Regions from separate parts of the Homo sapiens genome. Here all the other regions are linked to region 1. Evidence: promoter capture Hi-C in 16 types of primary human blood cells and fetal thymus (Javierre and others, 2016). All regions are on one chromosome and are shown on one strand. Each heading gives the region's core, a stretch centred on a gene start or on the middle of the fragment in contact. The rest is flanking DNA. Distances are from core to core; before and after follow the strand shown.

Region 1 (3,904 bases), core at 1-2,500:
AGCAAAACTCCAACTCAAAAAAAAAAAAAAAAAAAAAAAAAGAACTTACTCATGTAACCAAATAGCACCTGCACCCCAATAATTTATGGAAAAATAAAATAAATAAAAAATAAAAGCAATAGCTTTAGTAAGAAAGGGCACTTGCAGCATACCTACCAAATATCATATAAAGTTTAGAAACATACAATAATCAATACATTATTTGGGGCTATATCAAGGTAGAAAACCACAGGAATGATACACATAAAATCAGAAGAGTGGTTATTCTTTGGAGGAGGAGGATACCATTCAGAGGGGTACCCAAGAGTTATATATAAAAATGATCCATATCCCCATGTAGTGCTGGTTACACGGATGTTTGTTTTTATCTTTACATTACACGTTATATTCTTTCATATGCATGAAACGTAATATTTTTGTCGTAGTAAAATATACATAACAAAATTTAGCATTTTAACCGTTTTTAACTTTACAGTATTGTGGCATTAAGTACCTTCACCTTGTGCATCCATCCACCACTATTTCCAGAACGTTTTCATCATCCCAAACTGCTTTTGGTATCATATCCAAGAAATCATACCAAGTCCAATGTTATGAAGTTTTTGCTCTGTTTTCTTCTAAGAGTTTTAATTTTAGCCTTTATAGTTAGGTCTTTGATTCATTTTGCGTTAATTTTTATACGCGGTGTAAGGTAAGGGTTCAATTACATTCTTCTGCATTACACATTTTTAAACACAAACAAAATAAAAGAACAAAAGGAACCCTGTCCATTTACAAATGAAGGTATTGGGATAGCGGTAAAGTAACATGCTAAGCTCAGACAGCTGATAAAGGCAGCAGGGGCTGGAAGCCAAATCCTGTAGGCCTGGAAAGACGACTGCGGCCTCAGCGACAACAGCTGCGAACACGGGTCTCCACCCACCCTCTTACCTGCCCACGACTCAGGGACACTAGCTCCTCCCCTTTCCCCACCCCACAAGGGGCCGTCCCACGTGGCTCCCGGGCTTTCTGGCGCCGGAAAACTGGCGATGCGGGTGGGCGCGAAAGCCCGGAAAACTTTGGCATGTTTTGGACCGTAGGTAACTGGTTGTGCGGCATGGACTCCAGCTCCGTTGCGCTGTAATAACCAGACCCAGTTTTCCCTCACGCTCCAGGCCAGGGAGGAGCCCGGGGGCCGCTCAGGAAGTCCTGCGCACGCGCGCGTGCTCGGCCCGGATTGGCTGTTCGGAGCGGCGAGGGGCTTGGCGGGAGCTTCCAGTCGCTCGAGAGCGGAGAGCGGCACCATGGCCCCGCGGGGGCGGCGGCGGCCGCGGCCTCACAGGTCTGAGGGGTAAGTACTGCCGACCCTCGGGAGCGCGGGGCCGGAGACCAGCTTGAACTGCTTCCTCGCCTGCCGTGGTTTGCGCCTCCCGGCGCTGTTGGTGCTCCACTGTGGAGGTCGCCCGAGTGGCCAATCGCCCGGGTCCCCGGCTTCCTCCTCAGTCTAGTGGGGATAACAGTGATCCCACCTGCACGGGCCTGTCGGGGCCTAACACTGCCTGGCGGGTGGGAGAGACGTCAGCCAGTGTCGTGTCGTTTTGTGGGGAGGGGGAGTGCCGTCCAAAGTAGTGAGTCTCAAAGTGCTAGCTTGAAAGCAAAATATTCAGCAAATACGTATTGCCTGCGGTTTGCCAGACTTTGTTAGTGGAGTTTTATTCTCTGACTGGGAATCAGTTTTCTTATTTTGAAGACCCTGGTGTTTTCTTACTGCAAACCACAGACCGTAAACTGGAGCATAAATCCGGCTGGGGGACCGAGCTGCCGCTTGCGGTTCTCCAGGATGGCTCGAGCGGTTTTTGTTTACCAAAGAAAGCGAGCGTTTGGTCGGTTGCAAAACGCGCTCTAGAATGCTGGTCGCTGATTCGTTGGCGAATGGCCATCCAAGGCCCGGCCTGGATCTGGCGGGAAGGGTCTCGGCTTGCTGCAGACGGTGCACAAAGCCATACGCCAAGACGATCTGAAGAGAACAGGAGTTCCCCCGGGCCTGGGAAGGCTGCCTGGAGGAGGAGGTGCTGGTAGATGCGGGGTTAGGGTGGAAAAGCTGGAGCAGGACACCGCAGGTGGGTGGGGAAACCGAGACCAGACTTCTGTGGCCAGTGGAGGAGAATGAAGACTCCCCCAGTGCAAAAAAGGATTAGAAGAGAATGTCAGCCTTCAATGTCAGCTGAAAAGAGTTTATCTGAAAGGCTAGTGGTTTTTGTTGTCTTTTTTTATTTTTATCTTTTAACATTTTTGGGTTTGAGACTCATGAAATCTGTTCATGCCTCCTCCCAAAACACACTTACGCACATACAACAGAATTTTTTTTTTTTTTTTTTTTTGAGACGGAGTCTCACTCTGTGGCCCAGGCTGGAGTGCAGTGGCGCAATCTCCGCCTCCCAGGTTCAAGCGATTTTCCTGCCTCAGACTCCAGAGGAGCTGGGATTACAGGCGCTCGCCCCCACGTCCAGCTAATTTTTGTATTTTTAGTAAAGACGGGGTTTCACCATGTTGGCCAGGATGGTCTTGATTTCCTCACCTCGTGATCCGCCCTCCTGGGGTTCCCAAAGCGCTGAGATTACAGGCATGAGCCACCGCGCCTGGCCCAGAAATTTTACCTGTGGGTTGTCACAGAGGTTTCTGTCTCTCAGAAGCCCCACCTTGACTCCAGCGTAAGGCAAGGAGGAACCTTGACTTTTTTTCCCCCCCAAGAAAGGACAAGACAGCTCAAAGAGTTTAGGTTAAGAAGTTTATGTGGTCTAGTGTGTAGCTGGGTTTCTGTTACCTGGCTATGTGACCCTTGATAAGTCACTTAAATTTTCTGAATCCCGGAATCATCATCTATAAAATTGCCATAAAACCAATACTTGTCTTACCTGCTTCCTTAGGTTTCATGAATTAAATAAATAAATCGTGAACTTGTTAGAAATGCAGAATCCCAGACCTCACCCCAGAGGGACTGAATCAGACACTCCTGGGGTGGTGCCAAGCAACCTGTTCAACAAGCCCTCTTGAGAATTTTGATGACACTCAAGTCTGGGAACCACCGCTCTGAACAGTTTTCTAACTTTTTTTTTTTAACTGTGATTCACAGTAATGATGTTTTACATCACACTTAGTACACGTGTGCACACATCCACACATAAAACAAAAGGCTTGTGAACATAGTATATCCAGTGCAATGCTTCATTTTATATTTTCCTTTTTTATTGTTTGTTTTTTTAAAAATGCTGGCCTGGCAATCTTAAAAGACATTATAGGACAATTGATGTGATTTGGGTATGGACTGTAGATTAGATTATGGTATCAGTGTTAAATTTCTTGATTTTAGAAATTGTACCATGAATATGCAGTATAATGCCCTCTTAGGAAAGACATATTGTAGTATTTAGGGGTGGAAGTGCACAGTATCTCCAGACACACACACACACACACACACACACAGAGCACATGAGTAAAGGGCATACAGAAGGTCCTTGTGCTATGTTTGCAACTTTTCTGTGAGCTTGAAATTATATCAGATAAAAGGATACTAAAACATTGGTTTAGACTAAGCTGATTTTGCTGTCTACAAATGAGAAAAATATGGCTGCAATCTGCATGGCATATTTTAAAGTCTAATTATGTACTGTATTCTCCTGGAGTATCCCCCCCGTACCCTTGTACGATGCCTGGTTGGTGGAGGATAGTCTGTACATATTCACTGACTGCTGGCACTATTATTAGTAATAATGATATATAATCCTGCCACTGTTATTTCCCGTTTTTATTCTTGTCACCATTGTTACATTTGTTTTCTTGAAGCTTGTTGAAGATATATATACAACTTTATCATTTGAAGCTGTGGTCCAACTGAGAGAGTGTCAAGGGAGGTCGAGGGCAGGCC
Region 2 (3,904 bases), core at 1,017-3,516, 250 kb before region 1:
GTTGCCCAGGTTGGTCTCACATTCTTAGCCTCAAGCAATCCTCTTGCCTTAGCCTTTTAAAGTGCTGGGATTACAGGCTATGAACCACTGTGCCCTGTCTTATGTGGCTATTTAAATTTATTTATTTATTTATTTATTTATTTATTTATTTAGCGACAGAGTCTTACTCTGTCACCCAGGCTGGAGTGCAGTGGTGCAATCTCAGCTCACTGCAAGCCTCCCAGGTTCAAGCGATTCTCCTGTCTTAACCTCCTGAGTACCTGGGATTGCAGGTGTATGCCACCACGCCTGGCTAATTTTTTGTATTTTTACTAGAGATGGGGTTTCACCATGTTGGCCAGGCTGGTCTCGAACTCCTGACCTCAAGTGATCTCCCCACCTCAGCTTCCCAAAGTGCTGGGATTACAGGCATAAGCCACTGCGCTTGGCCTTAAATTTAATTTTTAATTAACAAAACTTGAAAAAAATAAATTCAGGTTCTCATTTGTACTAACTACATTTCCAGTACTCAGTAGTGACTTGTGGCTAGTGTATGTGACAGCACAGATGCAGAACAGTTCCCGCCATGGCAGGAAGTTCAATTGTACCACGCTGGGCAGTGCTGAGCTCTGGCCTTTGGGGTGGAGTGATGGGAGTCAATGAGGCAGCTTATTCCTGACACTTCAGAGGTCAGGAAGCAGAGAGGTCCTATAGTCGCCTATGTTTTGTGGTGGGATGTAAGAGGCAGCAACAGGACTGCCCTCCCTCACTTCTGCAAAACACTCGTGGTTGCTCCCTTCCATGTGCCAGGATTCCTGAAAGCCCCGTGGACACTCCTTTAAAGCACTGCCTCCAAAGAAGGCCTTGTAAAAATACACGTGTGATTTTAAAATGTTCATGCACTTGGATCCGATGATTCTACTTCTGGAAATATATCCAAAGGATATACTCATAGATATTCAAATAGAGATCCATAAAAGGAATATTCTACATTACATTATTATTTTTCTCGGGTCAGATTTAGGTGGGGTATACTTTACATACAATAAAATTGATCCTTATAAGGTAGACAGCTGGATAAGTTTTGCCAAACGTATACAGTCATGTAACCACCCCCATAATAAAAAAGCTTCCCATCATTCCAAAAAGTTCACCCATGCTACCCTTTGTGGTCAATCCCCTGCCGCAATCCCTAGCCCCTGGCAGCGCTGATCTGCTTTGCAGCTTGTAGTTTTGCCTTTTGTGAACGTCACACAAATGGAATTACAGGTGTGGCCATCTGCACCTGGCTTCTGTCATTTAGCAAATGTTTTTCGATGCATCCATGGTATTGCATTCATGGGTTGTTTGCTCCTTTTATTGGTGAGTAGTATTCCATTGTGTTGTCCTATAGTTTGTTGACCCATTTTCCTATCGGTGGGCATTTGGGTTGTTTCTGGTGTCTGGCAATCAGGAATAAAGCAGCTAAAACATTCATGTGCAGGTCTGTGTGGACCACAGGGCGCAGACATGCAAATGAATGTTGGTCTTCACATGAATGATTCCAGAAGTTGAATCATTTATTTACAGAGCGAGCTTCCAAGAAAAACCAGAATGTCTAACATCTAACATCTGATACCCTAAAGAATGGAGCAACCAAATGTAACCACTGACATTGCATTTTGAAAGGCTACTTGTGGCGTGGAAATATTTCACTTGTTTAGTGTTAAAAAGCAGAACACAGAACAATACGCTTTCAGGAGGAAACAATGGTCATCTCTGGCTCGTGGAGGACTTTTACTTTGTTCTTTCTTGACCATTTCTCTGTTGGGGTCTCTGAGCTGTCAGGAACCAGAAAACCATCCAGGTCTCTTACATGATGAGGTTGACCGTAAGAGGCTGCGGGACAACAAGGAAGGCAGGAAGGAATCTTGTCTGCAGAGGAGGCTGGAAGGGGCCATGTGGATGATGGCAACAGCAGCCCCTCAGAGATCTGCAGGAGCAGCAGGCTGCAGGCCCGGGGGGGCTTCCAGACACCCTGCCTGCTCTGTGCTCTCTCTTCCGTCTGTCCATCAGTCCACAAACTCTGAAGGAGTGACTTCCATCTGCCAGGCACGGCTTATCTCCCGGCATGTGGACGTGAACAAGGCACACTTGGCCGCTTCCCTCATGAAGCTGGGAGTCTAGTGTTGTCTCTCTCTCTCTCTCTCTCTTTCTCTCTCCTTCTGCTCCCACCAGCTAAACCCTCCCCTTCCCTTTTTTCTCTTCTGTGGCTTCTGCTTCGTTCCTTCCCTCTGCGGGTCGTAGGCAAATGCTCTCCTGCACCCCTCAGTCCTGCGAGACGGTCCTGCGTGTCTCGTCGCTCAGCTCCCGACAAGAGGGCCTGAGTGCAGTGCAGTCAGGGCAGAGCCTTACAGGAGCCCACGCTGCAGCCACGCCAGCCGGGGTTGCTGCCTTTGAGACAGGCACTCTGCCCTGGGGCTGACAGGATGCTGGCACCCAAGCTACTTCTGGATCCTTCTATCTAACTGTGTATTAATCAACAAGAGTGTATACATTTTCTGAATTATTTTGGGGACCAATCTGTTGAGTTCCAGGGCCTGCTCCATTCACAGCCATGCGGACGGGCTTCTCACCCACAGTTTGCCATGAAACAAGAAATAGACATAGAAGAAATCTGACCCAAGAAAAGTAATAATGTCACACAGAAAGTCCCTTTTACAGGTCTCTATTTGAATATCTATGAGTATATCCTTTGGATACATTTCCAGAAGTAGAATCATGGGATCCAAGTGCATGAACATTTTAAAATCACACGTGTATTTTTAGAAGGCCTTCTTTGGAGGCAGTGCTTTAAAAGAGTGTCCATGAGGCTTTTGGGAATCCTGGCACGCAGAAGGTAGCAGCCACGAGTGTTTTGCAGAAGTGAGTGAGGGCAGTACTGTTGCTGCCTCTTGCATCCCACCACAAAGCATGAGTGACTGTGGGACCGCCCTGGTCAATCCAGCGGGCAAGGGCAGGGGCAGAGTCAACAGACACACAGCTCAGTAGACTGTGGGTAAGAAACCCCCTTGGGACAGCTGTGAATGGGGCAGGCCCCAGAACACAACAGACGGGTCCCCAATATAATACAGAAAATGTATAAACTCTCATTGATCAATGGGTACAAATATGCAGTCAGATAGAAGAAATGAGACCTAGTGTTCGATAGATCAGTAGAGTGACCATATTTGACAATAATCTACTGCACAACTCAAAATAGCTAGAAGAGAATGATTGAAATGTTCCCAGCATAAAGGAAAGATAAATATTTAAGGTGAGGGATAACCCAATTCCCCGACTTGACCTTTACACAATATAGCAATGTGTCAAAATATCACATATGCCCTGAAGATTTGTACAGCTCTTATGTAACACTAAAAAAGATTAAAATAATATTACAACATTTTTTAAACTGGAAGCTTTTTATAATGAGCACCTGCTACTTTTCAAATTGGAGATGGGGGCAGTAGAAAATAATATTGCACAAGAAAAAAACCTATTTCCTGAGAAGGATAAGAACATTCTAGTGAGTCCTGGCTAAAGATATAAGCAGACGTGACTCCATCCATGTTGGCTGTCTCCCAGGAGCAGAGGGCGAGGCTAAGAGAAGGGTTCAGGGAACTCGGTCTGTGGAAGGTTAGAGACAGAAAGAGGACGGAACACTGGGACCTCGGGGAGGGCGGAGCTGGGGGAGGGCTGAGAGCATGAACTCACTTCTTATGTTCTTTCTTGTTGTTTTTTGCACTATAAATATATTTTGTTATCCATGAATAAAGCACTTGACATTTACTAAATATTTATAATTCTTCTCATTTTTACTTTTCGAGGCAATTTTAATTGAAAAAAATGTTTCCAGCTTTACTGAGGTATGATTAACAAATACAAATCATATATATTTGGTGTA
Region 3 (3,904 bases), core at 383-2,882, 220 kb before region 1:
CACAGGAGGCCTGCAGCCAATGCTGGACTCTGCCCCCAGATCTGGCCTCTATCTCGCCTCACACTGGAGAGAGATGGTGACAAGAACAGTCCAGATGCAGCATGGTGCAACCTGGACTGATTTGCTAAAATTGTGATAAAATGTGCATAAGATAAAAGTCCCCATTGTATTCATTTTTAAGTGTGCAGTTCTGTGGCCTGATACACACTCACATTTTTGTACAGCCATCACCGTGCCCTAGCTCCAAAACTTTTTCATCCAACCAACTGAAGCTTCCTCTGTACCTGCTAAACCCTAATTCCCCCTCCCCTTCCCGCCAGGCCCTGACAACCACCAATCTATGTCTTGTCTCTATGAATGTGACTACTCCATGTACCTCCTAGAATTGGAGCTGACAGCGTTTGTCCTCCTGGACGGATTCCTTTTTCTTTTTGTAGAAACAGGGTCTTCCTACGTTGCCCAGGCGGGTCTCGAATTACTGGCTCCAATGATCCTCCCGCCTTGGCCTACCAAAGTGCTGGGATGACAGGCGCGAGCCACTGCACCTGGCCTGGACGGATTCTTATTGGCATCTGAGACGGAATGGACTGGGCTTTGTGAAATTCATCATCAGTTACTCTATTGACTGGCACCGGCCGGCAGAGACCAGAACCTGTGGGTCGGAGTGGCTGTTTCCTTCTGAACAAATAGATGCTTCCACTGTTAGTCATCCTGAAAAGAGTTTAATCCCAGAGTACAAAAAGAAGTGGACTGAGACTGGGGAAAGTAAGGCTTTCCTCTCTGCAGCTTGCTTGGCCTTCATTCCAAGGTGTGGAGCTACCTGGGGATTCTTCCTGGTGGGGTGTGGGTGGTGGCGCCTGTGTCCATGGAGGGAAGCCTGCTGCGGGCAGTACAGCAATTGTGAGGGCAGCCAAGCCCTTTTAGTGCAGGCATCTCTTACGCTCTGTGTGGTCCTCCAGCTAGCCCCAAGGCTCAGCACCACGTGCTTACATCAGCTCATCATCTCAGCCAAGCTGCAGGGATGGGAGAGGTGGATGTCCTGGCCACCAGGCTGCAGGTGGGAGGCAGTGGGGGGCATCAGCTGGGCCCCACCGGGCAGACCTGTCATGAAGGTACAGAGGCCGGAGACAACACAGATAAAAAAGTGAAGCCAAGCGAGATGTCCCAGAGTACCGTGGGCAGCGTGCTGGAGCATTCACGGAAGTTCCAGCAAGCAGCCTGGTGTGAGCTCACGACATCATCACTTCCATCTGAAAAGAGAAGGATAATTTACTTTTTAGACACAGGCTTGTGTCTAAAGAGGCCAGAGACACTGAGTTAAACACATCTGACTTAATATCATAATCTTTCAAATTATTTTCCATGAACTAAAGTGATGCTCAAGGAAGACCATCCCTGCAACCCGCCTCTACTCACCGCTGCCCCAGCACCCTGGCTGGAGACACAGAGCCCTGGGTTCATTCCAAAATGCAATGACAATTTGCTTTCACACTCAAAATATGGGAAAGACTTTAGAGTGTGCGGTAGTTCCCGTTTCTGTGTAGCTTACATCAGGGCGGGTATCTCCGGGGCCCTATTCAACGTCGTGCTCAAGCAACCCCAAGCAGTATTCAGGAGCCACTTGGAAGGAGCTGCAAGGTTTAAGCAGTTAATGAACATTCAAATCATATAGTAGAAAATAAAACCTCGAACACGGGGTTTTAGTATCTATGGAATCTGATGGGTTTGAAGATAAAGTGCCCACAGAGAAGCCACAGCTTCAAGATTCTTCGTGGTATAGTTATTCAGGGAGCTTGCCAATTGTGAGCTGCAAAATCATAACATTAATACTTAATAATAGGCTTATTCCTGTTACTCTTTATTATCCCAATCATGTTCCCAGCTATTATCTCCTTTCTCCCCTTATACCATCCCTGGGGAGAGGCTGACATAAATTATTATCCCTCCTTTAAGGGGGAAGGCATTAAAGCACAGAGAGATTAAATGACATGCCTGAGGCTCTAAAATTAGTGTGCAGCACAGGCGAGGTGAGAGCTTGTGTGTCTGTTTCCCCCAGTGTTCCTCTGCTTCTCTGGCTAGCTCTGGGTATCCAACCTCTCTAGGTCCAAACATCTCAGCCACCCTCATAAATAGCCATGAAGTCTTGGGAAAGCCTGCTGCTCTGCACCCGGGCCTGTTTCCACCTCACATTAACATGCCTTTAGAGCAATGTCTAGGAGCCACCTCTTCTCAGAGGCTTCCCTACCCACCTCCTGCTGAGATGGTCGCCACCTCTGGCAACCTTCAGCCACACCTGGAATTAGCCCCACACCAACAGCGCGGGGCATGTAATTACACGCTTTCTAGAATTATGTGCTCATGGCTTGCCAACTAAAGGGTGAGCTTTCTGAGGGTTGGCCTCCAGCTGCATCCCATGCGTCTTCTTTGGTGTCCTTCAAGGCCTCTGGAAGCAAGTTGGGCAGCACGGGGGCCTAATAAACTTGCTCAGTGATGTGTTGGGTGCTGTAGGACATGAGTGATGGGCAAGATGGATTCTCTGTGAAAGCTCTGCTGCTTGTTCCAGTCCCTCTCCGTCCTCCGCTCCATTTCATTCCGCACACATAGCTATCACTACCACTGTGCTATGCATCTGTCTGTCTGCACATTTACGGCTGTCTCTCCCACTGCAGTGTCAGCTCCAGGGGAGCAAGGCCCTTCTTGCTTCTCCAGATCCTCACACACATAGCAGCCGCTTGTTCCATCGGGATGTGTATCCCTCCAAGTCTCATGATGTGATCCCCAGTGTTGGAGGTGGGGCCTAGTGGGAGGTGTTTGCGTCATAGGGGCTGATCTCTCTTGAATGGCTTGGTGCTATCCTGGCAAGAGCGAGTGAATTCGTGTGAGATCTAGTTGTTTAAAGAGTGCGGCACCTCCAGCTTCTCTCTCACTCTGCTTTCACCATAGGATGCACCTGCTCCCCCTTCCCCTTCTCCCTCAATTGCTTGTAAGCTTCCTCAGGCCCTCAAGTGGCACAGATGTCGGTGCCATGCTTCCTGTATGGCCTGTAGAATCGTGAGCCAATTCAAACTTTTTTCTTTACAAATTGCCTAGCCGCAGGTGTTCCTTTATAGCAGGGGTCTCCAACACCCAGAACCAGGAGGTTAGGAACCAGGCTGCAGAGCAGGAGGTGAGCAGCAGGCAAGCGAGTGAAGCCTCCTCTGTATTCACAGCCACTCCCCATCACTCACATACCGCTTGAGCTCTGCCTTCTGTCAGATCAGCGGCAGCATTAGATTCTCAAAGAAGAGTGAACCCTTTTGTGAACTGCGCATGCAAGGGATCTAGGTTATGTGCTCCTTAAGAGAATCTAGTGCCTGATGATCTGTCACGGTCTCCCGTCACCCCCAGATGGGACCATCTAGTTGCAGGAAAGCAAGCTCAGGGTTCCCACTGATTCTATACTATCATGAGTTGTATAATTATTTAATTATATATTACAATGTAATAATTATAGAAATAAAATGCACAATAAATGAATCATCCTGAAACCACCTCCCACTTCCATGGCCTGTGGCAAATTCGCCTTCCATGAAACCAGTCCTTGGTGCCAAAGAAGTTGGGGGACTGGTGTTTTTTTTTTTTTTTTTTGAGACAGAGTTTTTGCTCTTGTTGCCCAGGCTGGAGTGCAATGGCGCAATCTCGGCTCACTGCCACCTCCACCTCCCAGGTTCAAGTGATTCTCCTGCCTCAGCCTCCCGAGTAGCTGGGATTACAGGCGTGCACCACCATGCCCAGCTGGTTTTTTGTATTTAGTAGAGACGGGGTTTCACCATGTTGGTCGGTCTGGCCTTGAACTCCTTACCTCAGGTGATCCACCTGCCTTGGGCTCCCAAAGTGCTGGGATTACAGGCATGAGCCACCATGC

Evidence for each region. Contacts are between HindIII fragments. The CHiCAGO score rates a contact against its expected background, and 5 or more counts as called.
Region 2: a fragment that was not itself captured here is called in contact with the fragment with the promoter of CENPU in region 1 in 2 of 17 cell types (neutrophils and M0 macrophages); the score reaches 7.8 in neutrophils.
Region 3: a fragment that was not itself captured here is called in contact with the fragment with the promoter of CENPU in region 1 in 1 of 17 cell types (neutrophils); the score reaches 5.8 in neutrophils.

What each region holds. Positions count from the first base shown.
Region 1 is chr4:184,731,442-184,735,345 of GRCh38, reverse strand. CENPU (centromere protein U) reads left to right here and starts at 1,250. Exons shown (of 13, transcript NM_024629.4): 1 at 1,250-1,330. The coding sequence starts at 1,284. RefSeq lists a silencer at 1,244-1,303 and enhancers at 1,674-1,793, 944-1,810. The HindIII fragment of the contact is 4,927 bases long and covers 1-3,824 here.
Region 2 is chr4:184,978,115-184,982,018 of GRCh38, reverse strand. No RefSeq gene overlaps it. Among named protein-coding and RNA genes, the nearest start is that of LINC02437, 9.3 kb to the left of the region's middle. The HindIII fragment of the contact is 2,311 bases long and covers 1,111-3,421 here.
Region 3 is chr4:184,956,683-184,960,586 of GRCh38, reverse strand. No RefSeq gene overlaps it. Among named protein-coding and RNA genes, the nearest start is that of MIR4455, 20 kb to the right of the region's middle. RefSeq lists a silencer at 2,894-3,057. The HindIII fragment of the contact is 2,716 bases long and covers 275-2,990 here.